2 separate regions of the Homo sapiens genome follow, and region 2 is linked to region 1. The links are contacts of gene promoters, found by promoter capture Hi-C in human tissues and cell types (Jung and others, 2019). All regions are on one chromosome and are shown on one strand. Each heading gives the region's core, a stretch centred on a gene start or on the middle of the fragment in contact. The rest is flanking DNA. Distances are from core to core; before and after follow the strand shown. Region 1 holds the start of TNFRSF19 (TNF receptor superfamily member 19). Region 2 overlaps LOC124903135 (a long non-coding RNA gene).

Region 1 (5,336 bases), core at 781-3,280:
CCAGGCGACAGATGGGGCCCTAGCCTCAGTCCCCTTTCATCTCACATATGGGGAGTTCTTGGCCACAAGAGGACCAATTCAAAATAATATCCAGTGACTTGGTGAATAAACTCTTCCACTGGAGATGGTATTGCATTGTTGGATGTATCTTGAACTACAAAGCTTGCTTGGGGAGATTTGTATAAATTGAAGATCATTTGATTGGTTTTCATTCAAGTCCCTGCTTTCAAGTGCCTCCTGTATGTTTTTCAGTGGAACACAAGAACCCGAATTCAGTCCTTCACCTATTTCTACTGGTGTTGAAATCTATAAAGACATAAAATCTACTTGCTTAGCCAATGAGCCTTACAGAGTGTCTAGTTGCTCTGATTTAATATATCAGTGTATCGGGAAACTTTAATCCTGAGTGCAGGCTGTTGGCATATGGATTCCATGCTGGTGGTAGGTTTGGACTACCTCAGAAAAGAAATGGGCACATGCCTTCTTGTAAATATTTTGTCTTTGTAAATATTTTCTTTGTATTCATGGGTTCAAGATGCCCAGGAAACGTATGTGAAGCCCAGATGTCACAGGAATTTTCCTGGTCTGCTTTAAGGAAGTCCTTAAGCATCACACCTGCCAGTTCAAATACTATTTGAGCCCTGTGCATTTTTGAGAAATGATGTATAAGTAGAAAAATTATACAAGAAACATGGAAAAATCAACAGGACTATTTAAATGTTATACAGAACTTATGAACAGTTCAAACTAAATATTTTGCTATTAAAATTATTCAAGAATCATAGAAATCTGGAAATAAACACTTCATAAATAACGTTTTCAAATATCGCGTCAGGAAAAATTAGACAAAACCAGTTAAGGAGGGAAGTTACATTGAAAAAGACTGAGTTCTACTATCCCCTAAGTTTTGCAAAAATATTTTTAACTTACTTTCTAAAAGTTAGTGAGTTTCCATTATAAAATAGAAAAATTGTCTTCATTCCATGAAAGAACTGTCTGAAAATCAGAAAAGCACCATATCCTGGATTTCAAGGAAGATGAAACTTCTTCTTATCTTCTATTTTACTAAATACTCAAAATAAAATAATCATATTGTATTGAATCTGACATTGTTAAGGAAAATAGCTTAAAATTTTTAAATAATGAGCAATATATTTAATTTTAAAATACGAAGAATTAGGCTAAGGTGGTAATTTTTTAGTGAGTTGAAAGTCCAAACTATGAGTTCGGAAGAAACAGCCCTAAAAGGCAAATAACATGGCTTTGGAATAATCACAGGGCAAATGCTTTGTTCTACATAATTCTTCTTTTGTGAATTTTAAAATGCTCAACAAGTATTAATGAAATATGTCTAAGAAGTAGATATTGCTTTAAAATCTAATTTCCAGAGTCCCGAACTAAGGCAAAGATTGAGATTAAGTCTCCGCCCAAAGTCTTAAGTGAGCCAGTGGAAGATGGCAGTTTATTCATGAATTGTTGGTTATCTGCTGCTTAACTACTTAACACAACCCGGTTTGATTGGTAATCAGATCCTAATAATGTATGTTTCAAAGAAAGGGCAGTTTCCTTAAAATCCTTAAAGACTTGTCACTTTGAAAACTGGAATCAAAATGTGAAAATGTTATCGGTCCATCTGGCAGTGTCCTTGGGTGTTTTTTAGAGTGGTCTCATAGTGCTATTTAACTATGCTGAATATTTGACACCCAGTCTCTGTAGGAAATTGTGATTTTTATCAGCGAAGAGGCAATTAAATGCTGTCATTTGGCACGTCCATCCATCAGGGATCTTATCACCCAAGAAGCATCCAGCAGCAGTTGCTGTCCTTTCCAGCTGGCAGACAGATAACAGAAACTGTCCTGTGTGAGGCACAATAGTCTAACATGATTAGAAATCAGCCAAACTCTGGCTTCTCTTGAGCTATACTCCCCCACAGGCTGAATTATAGCTCTCCTACCAGTCCCACGGCGCTGAATGATGTCATGGGATCTGCAGTTCAGCGAGATGAAAGGGATAAAGCAGAACCCGCTGGCACTAGGAAAAGCTTCCAACACACAGTCCACAACACAGCTTGGGAACCAAAAAAGCTACAGATCCAGCCACTCAGCCCAAGCATGGGAGAACTACCAGCATTGCCTCATTGCAAAAAAGAGGAGGAAAACAACGTGATCCATGTTTAACAAAAGAGTCTGTGGACTAGGAGGTGGGAGGGTAACTACCTGCTGAAAGTGAACTTTCTTTGATATCCATGCATATATATAAACTCAGCCCTGCCTTTGATGTTCAGCAACTGATTCACTGATCAGATTACAGGCATTTCATCTCCCTGCTCGTCTGCCTTTGATCTGCATGGTTAATTTTATTTTCCTGGATTTGAAGTTTCGTCTGGGCTTGTGCTGACATACATTTTTGGGAAGGTAGAAGCATTTGGCACAGAAGTGCTGCCAGGAGAAACTAAGTTGCTGAACGGGTAAGTACTGCAAAGAGCTCAGCATGTTGCAGGTACTCTGTTTTAAGCTTTGTTATAGCTTTCACTGCATTTTTCGCATGTGTTCTGAGAAAAGAATGGTTTTAATTAATTTTTTAGAAAGCATTTATACAGCTGAATACTACATGATGCTGAATGTGTGTATCAGAGTAACTATGGAACTTGATGTAATTTTTAGTAGTTTGTACAAGAGGGTTTGCAGTCTGTCATACAAATTTTACTTGGAAATGAGTTGTACAAACAGGACAAAACAGAACAGCGCTCACTTTAGCATGCAACTGGTACTTCAACCCCTGAGATCTGTGAGCTATAATTGCTCTAAGTATTTACAGGTTACCTTATTTAGTAAACAGTCAGTGCAACTTTGCTTGTTGAAAATGCTTTCTTTGTTTTCTTATATAAAAGAGTAAAATGTATCTCTGGCAATACTGTTTCTTTAGTTTATTTATTCTCTCACTTCCAAGATGTAAATCTATCAAATACACTTCCTTATGCAGTTTGTACACTCAAGGGAATCACTGAAAAACCATCAAGTATGATTAAAGACTTTTATGTGTAAAACTGAAGAATTTAAAAACAGTGAGGATAAAGTTGCACTAAGTTTGGCTAAAAATACTCCAGTGATTTTCTATAACCTTTGGAAATAGCATAAGCCTTATTTACAGAAACATTCACAAGGTTAATATTCCTAAATTAACATTTACTTTACATTTATAGTGACAGCTGTTTTAAGTCAAAATTTGCCAACTGTTTATGAAAACTATCTGAGTAATCAACAGTTATTATGTTACATAAAGTATCTTAGTCACATTTTCACTTTAGCTAATGCCCAACATGACAAAACCAAATTATATTGCTGTACCGAATTTGAAAGTTAACTGTTATTTTTTTGTCAGTTCATGATACACACACACTCACGCTCACACACACACACAGTAAAATCTTTACAGTGAAATATAAAAACTAAATACAATGGAAAAGTAACACTGTTACTTTGTTCGCGATGTTTTTTTTTTTAATGTTCTAGTCCTAAATTTATCTGGGCAAAATATTTAATTATTATCACAAGTCTATTTGATGCTAGCTGAACCATAAAGAAACCATAAGTGATAAGACCAGTTATCCTTTAGTCTGAAATTCTGATGAAACAGGAAAGGTCTAATGAGTCTCATTTCATAAGTAATTAATTTTTCACAGCCAATTAATTAAATTACTTTCTACACTTTCCTCTTGATACTAGAAGGGTAATTAGCATTGTTTATTTAATTTTAAAACTTTGCTAGTTGTTAAGTGGAGGTTATTTAAAGCCATGCTAAACTGATTATATTTTTAAAGTGTGTCATTAATAACTTAATCTTAAAGATTTAACTGCTGTTTTTAGTCATGCCAGGAGAGGCATTTGCTTTTTTTTTCTAAGAGTACAACAAATCATGTTCACAATATCCTGCAATATCGGTTTAGTTTGATTTTTTTTTAATTTGTTTGCTTAAAATCTTCCTTTTAATCACAAAAGTGGTATTAATGTTCACATTCAGATAAAGAAAATTAGCCTTTTAAAACAATGACTGGAGATGGTGCCTAAAGAAATAGTGTGTCTGAAACTTGCTCATTTAGTTCAGATTTGGATTTTAAAATTTTTAAAATGACTGTTTATCCTGCTACTAGGATCATTTTAACAAATACAGGCTCTCCTCAGCACAAAACAAAGGGGAGAATTAGCAATTATCTGATTAATTTAGGCTTTGTAGAAAACTAGCTTGGGCAAGTCAAGTCCTTGAAAATCCACTTCAGTGTTTGAATTAATTCAGTTAATTGTTTACTTCTAGTGTCATTGTTGAGAAATGAAATAGAGTGTATTTGATTTTAAAATAAAGATGGTTGTATCTGAAGGTACAGGTACAGTCTCAAAAGGCATTTCCTAATTAATTGCCACAAAATGACTTTGGCAGATATAGTCCTATTACTTCTACTGAACAAAACCCTTATGTGACATTTTTCAAAGCACTTTCCTATCTGTTGCTTCAATGGCAGCTTTGTTACTACAGAAAGTCCAAGTCTTCAAAAGACTTTTATGTTGAGTCCTGATACTGTCACCAATTAGCTATATGACCTCAAGAGAGTTTCCTCATGTGTGAAGTGAGGGAGTTGATCACATCATCTTTATGAAATAAGCAGAATTGGAATTTTTATGGCCATTTTACAGATGAGGAAACTGAGGCTATAGAAAACGAATGTCCCTATCTTAACAAGGTCACATGGCTGATTTTCCCAGTTCTAGTCCAATGTTCTTTCCAGTCTACCATGCAGGGTCTGCTTTCCAACAACTGCTTAAACAAATGCACTCTGTAGCTCATCAAAGAACAATATTAGTTTGAAAAATAAAGACAGCCACTTCCTATTGTAGTGCATTTTTTTTTTGTTTCCATGATAGATATGTCAGTCAGCTGGATTCGTCTGATTATTTTCCAACTGTTCCTTCTACTTCTGGACTTCTAAGCTGTCTAAACACAGTAGCTGCTACCCATAATTTAACATAATTTAACACGTAAAATAATTTTCACAAAAAGTTTAATGCATCAATGTGATGTGGAATTATATATGTATTTGTGTGTTTGCCTCTGTGTGTGTGTGTACATACGAGTTTGGCATTATATCAACACATATTTGTGTGTTTTGAAGGAATTGATATTTTCTTAGATGATGCCAGTGGCATCCAAAAACAGTTTAATAATTAAAGGTTAATTTTCCTCCAGGGAAATTCCCAGTGGGATTCTGTGAAACTTCAGTTGACAAACTCAATGTGCATTTCAAACATGATATGATATGTGTTTCATATCATGTTTGATTATGT
Region 2 (5,336 bases), core at 1,701-4,200, 39 kb before region 1:
ACAGTTCTGGACCTTAAGGATGCTGCCTTCTGTCTTCCCCTGCACTCTGACTCCCAGTTTCTCTTTGCCTTTGAGGATCCCACAGACCACACATCACAACTTACTTGGATGATCTTGCCCCAAGGGTTTAGGGATAGCCCTCATCTGTTTGGTGAGGCACGGCCCAAGATCTAGGCCACTTCTAAAGTCCAGGCACTCTGGTCCTTCAGTATGTGGATGATTTACTTTTGGCTACCATTTCAGAAGCCTCATGCCAGCAGGCTACTTTAGATCTCTTGAACTTTCTAGCTAATCAAGGATAGAGGGGTCTAGGTCGAAGACCCAGCTTTGCCTACAGCAGGTCAAATATCTAGACCTAATCTTAGCCAGAGGGACCAGGGCCCTCAGCAAGGAATGAATACAGCCTATACTGGCTTATCCTTGCCCTAAGACATTAAAACAGTTGCGGGGGTTCCTTGGAATTACTGGCTTTTGCTGACCATGGATCCCCAGATACAGCGAGATAGCCAGGCCCCTCTATACTCTAATCAAGGAAACCCAGAGGGCAAATATTCATCTAGTAGAATGGGAACCAGAGGCAGAAACAGCCTTCAAAACCTTAAAGCAGGCCCTCGCACAAGCTCCAGTTTTAAGCCTTCTGACAGGACAAAACTTCTCTTTATACGTCACAGAGAGAGCAGGGATAGCTCTTGGAGTCCTTACTCAGACTCGTGGGACAACCACACAACCAGTGGCAGGTATACATAAGTAAGGAAATTGATGTAGTATCAAAAGGCTGGCCTCACTGTGGTGGTGGCCATCTTAGTGTCAGAGGCTATCAAGATACTACAAGGAAAAGATCTCACTGTCTGGACTACTCATGATGTAAATGGCACACTAGGTGCCAAAGGAAGTTTATGGCTATCAGACAACCACCTACTTAGATACCAGGCACTACTTCTTGAGAGACTGGTGCTTCAAATATGCATGTGCGTGGCCCTCAACCCTGCCACTTTTCTCCCAGAGGATGGGGAACCAATTGAGCATGGCTGCCAACAAATTATAGTCCAGACTTATGCCACCCGAGATGGTCTCTTAGAAGTCCCCTTAGCTAATCCTGACCTTAACCTATATACCAATGGAAGTTCATTTGTGAAGAATGGGATACGAAGGGCAGGTTACACCATAGTTAGTGATGTAACTGTACTTGAAAGTAAGCCTCTTCCCCCAGGGACAAGTGCCCAGTTAGCAGAACTAGTGGCACTTACCCGAGCCTTAGTACTGGGAAAGGGAAAAAGAATAAATGTGTATACAGATAGCAAGTATGCTTATGTAATCCTACATGCCCATGCTGCAATATGGAAAGAAAGGGAGTTCCCAACCTCGGGGAACCCCCATTAAATGCCACAAGGAAATCATGGAGTTACTGTACATAGTGCAAAAACCGAAGAAGGTGGCAGTCTTACACTGCCAAAGCCATCAAAAGGGGAAGGAGAAGGGAGAACAGCAGCATAAGCATATGGCAGAGGCAGAAGAAATGAAAGACAGAAAGAGACAAGAAGTCAGAGAGGAAGAGATAGAGAGACAAAGAGAGAAAGAGAAAGACAGGAAGTCAAAGAGAAGGAGACAGAGAGAGGAAGAGACAGACAGAGGCAGTCAGAAAGAGAGAGACGAAGAAGTCAAAGACAGAGATAGAAGTAGTAAAGAAAAAACAGTGTATCCTATTCCTTTAAAAGCCAGGGTAAAGTTCTGTCTACCCAGCCAAGGTATATTCTTCCTATGTGGAATGTGGACCTACATCTGCCTCCCCACTAACTGGATAGGCACCTGCACCTTAGTCTTTCTAAGTCCCAACATTAACATTGCCCCAGGAAATCAGAGCCTATCAGTACCCCTCAAAACTCAAGTCTGTCAGTGCAGAGCCATACAACTGATACCACTACTTACAGGGTTAGGAATAGTTACTGCTACAGGAACCGGAATAGCCAGTTTATCTACTTCATTATCCTACTACCAGACACTCTCAAAGGATTTTTCAGACAGTTTGCAAGAAATAACGAAATCTATCCTTACTCTACAATCCCAAATAGACTCTTTGACAGCAGTGACTCTCCAAAACCACCGAGGCCTAGACCTCCTCACTGCTGAGAAAGGAGGACTCTGCACCTTCTTAGGGGAAGACTGTTGTTTTTACACTAACCAGTCATGGATAGTGTGAGATGCCACCCGGTGTTTACAGGAAAAGGCTTCTGAAATCAGGCAACGTCTTTCAAACTCTTATACCAACCTCTGGAGTTGGGCCACATGGCTTCTCCCTCCCCTTTCTAGGTCCTGTGGCAGCCATCTTGCTGTTACTTGCCTTTGGGCCCTGTATTTTTAACCTTCTTGTCAAATTTGTTTCCTCTAGAATCGAGGCCATCAAGCTACAGATGGTCTTACAAATGGAACCCCAAATGAGTTCAACTAACAACTTCTACCGAGGACACCTGGACTGACCTGCTGGCCCTTCCACTGGCCTAAAGAGTTCCCCTCTGGAGGACACTACAACTGCAGGGCCCCTTCATCACCCCTATCCAGCAGGAAGTAGCTAGAGCAGTCATCGGCCAAATTCCCAACAGCAGTTGGAGTGTCCAGTTTAGAGGGGGGATTGAGAGGTGACAATGTGCTAGCAGCCCTCGCTCACTCTCAGTGCCTCCTCAGCCTCGGCGTCCACTCTGGCCATGCTCAAGGAGCCCTTCAGCCCACCACTGCACTGTGGGGGCCCCTCTTTGGGCTGGCTGAGGCCAGAGCCGGCTCCCTCTGTTTGTGGGGAGGTGTGGAGGGAGAGGCATGGGCAGGAACTGGGGCCAGCACGAGTTCCGGGTGGGCGTGGGCTCAGCTGTGGAGGGTGCACCGGGTCCCCCAGCACTGTTGGCCCACCTGTGCCATGCTCAAATTCTTGCCGGGCCTCAGCCGCCTCCCTGCGGGGCAGGGCTTGGGACCTGCAGCCCGCCATGCCCTAACCCCCCCTGCTCCACGGAGCCTGGTCCCATCGACTACACAATGGCAAAGGAGTGTGGGCACGCAGCATGGGATGGTCGGGCAACTCCTCACGTGGCCCTGGAGCGGGATCCACTAGGCGAAGCCAGCTGGGCTCCTGAGTCAGGTGGGGACTTGGAGAACTTTTATGTCTAACTAAAGGTTTGTAAATGTGCCAATCAGCACTTTGTGGCTAGCTCAAGGTTTGTAAATGCACCAGTCAGCACACTGTGGCTAGCTCAAGGTTTGTAAATGCACCAATCAGTGCTCTGTGTCTAGCTAATCTAGTAGGGACTTGGAGAACTTTTATGTCTAGCTAGAGGATTGTAAATACACCAATCAGCACTCTGTATCTAGCTCAAGGTTTGTAAACGCACCAATCAGCACCCTGTGTCTAGCTCAAGGTTTGTAGACGCACCAATCAGCACTCTGTGTCTAGCTTAAGGTTTGTAAATACACCAATCAGTGCTCTGTGCCTTGCTAATCTAGTGGGGACTTGGAGAACTTTTACGTCTAGCTAGAGGATTGTAAATACACCAATCAGCACTCTGTGTCTAGCTCAGGGATAGTAAATTCACCAATCAGCATGCTGCCAAAGCAGACCAATCAGCTCTCTGTAAAATGGGCCAATCAGCAGGAAGTGGGTGGGGTCAGATAAGGGAATGAAAGCAGGCTGCTGGAGCCAGCAGTGGCAACCCATTGGGGTCCCCTTCCACGCTGTGGAAGCTTTGTTCTTTTGCTCTTTGCAATAAATCTTGATGCTGCTCACTCTTTGGTTCCACATTGCCTTTATGAGCTGTAACACTCACTGCAAAGGTCTGCAGCTTCACTCCTGAGGCCAGCGAGACCATGAACCCACCGGGAGGAATGAACAACTCCAGACGCGCCACCTCAAGAGCTGTAACACTCACCACGAAGGTCTGCAGCTTCACTCCTGAAGCCAGCGAGACCACGAACCCACCAGAAGGAAGAAACTCCGAACAAGTCCGAACATCAGAAGGAACAAACTCTGGACCCACCACCTTTAAGAACTGTAATACTCACCACGAGGGTCCGCGGCTTCATTCTTGAAGTCAGTGAGACCAAGAACCCACCAATTCCGGACACAATAGGAAGCAAGATCCCTCTTGGTGGTTGTATATTGCCTGGTCTACACGTGCTGCGTGGAACTGGGCTGTCCACCTGTGACTGTGCTGAGCCAAGCCAACATATTAAGCTGCACAAGAAAGACAGCATTTGAATGTTTGAATTCACCATGAAACTGCCCTATTTCTATATTTTGTGCAAGGTTCACGTTTTCCCCATTGTTTAAGCCATTTTTGGTTGGATATTTTATTATTTGTACCCAAAATTGTCTTAGCTAACAGACACTCAACTGTCTATATGCTCTTTAGCTCCAATAGTGCTCTAATTGTTTCATCTCTACCAAGTTGAAAATTTATTTGAGCAGAGAAAATAATCACCATATTTTTCTGGTTATAATTCGTTTTTCATAATTTAATGCTTCTAAAATGATCTATCTTTCAATGTATGTATTTAATATGAAAATATTTCTTTTTCCTGAAAATATATTATTGAATTTATAGCACAGATTACAACAATTATGTCTTAAACTCTGAGAAATGGGATAGTAGATTTCAGCTTTACCCCCAAGAAAAAGGAGAGTATAGAAAATGCCTAAGGAACTTGGTAGAGGGCAGGGTGCAGTGGCTTCTGCCTGTAATCCCAGCAATTTGGGAGGCCAAGGAGGGCGGATCATGAGGTCAAGAGATTGAGATCAGCCTGGCCAAGACGGTGAAACCCCATCTCTACTAAAAATACAAAAATTAGCTGGGCGTGGTGGTGCGTGCCTGTAATCCCAGCCCTACTCGGTAGGCTGAGGCAGGAGAATCGCTTCAGCCTGGGAGGCGGAGGTTGGCAGTGAGCCGAGATTGTGAGACTCAGTCGAAAAAGAAAGAAAGAAAGAAGGGAGGGAGGGAGGGAAGAATCACAGACCAAATTAATTAACATTGATGTAAAAACTCTAAAGATTAGCAAATCCAACATTGCAACGTTTTATTTCTCCATAATGTTAAAGAGCCTTTTTTCTTTACACCAGCTTTACCATTTTATTACATGTATCTTATATTGCCACGAAGTTTGTTTACATACAATAAAGTGCATGCATTCTAAGTATACAATTCAGTGGGTTTTGGCAAATGTAACCAACCATGGTTACATTCAGTCTCAATATAGAACATTTCCATCACCCTCCAAAAATTCCCTGTGCTATCTCTATATTTATGTTATGCAAGGCTCACATTTGCCTCATTATTGAAATCATTGTTGGTTGGGTTTTG

Evidence for each region. Contacts are between HindIII fragments. The study calls those that stand out against the background at their distance.
Region 2: a contact is called between a fragment that was not itself captured here and the fragment with the promoter of TNFRSF19 in region 1, in 1 of the 25 tissues and cell types used here (mesenchymal stem cells).

What each region holds. Positions count from the first base shown.
Region 1 is chr13:23,568,382-23,573,717 of GRCh38, forward strand. TNFRSF19 (TNF receptor superfamily member 19) reads left to right here and starts at 2,031. Exons shown (of 10, transcript NM_148957.4): 1 at 2,031-2,467. RefSeq lists an enhancer at 1-466. The HindIII fragment of the contact is 2,276 bases long and covers 2-2,277 here.
Region 2 is chr13:23,528,753-23,534,088 of GRCh38, forward strand. LOC124903135 (a long non-coding RNA gene) reads left to right here. Exons shown (of 3, transcript XR_007063720.1): 3 at 2,387-3,765. Among named protein-coding and RNA genes, the nearest start is that of TNFRSF19, 39 kb to the right of the region's middle. The HindIII fragment of the contact is 7,595 bases long and covers 1-5,336 here.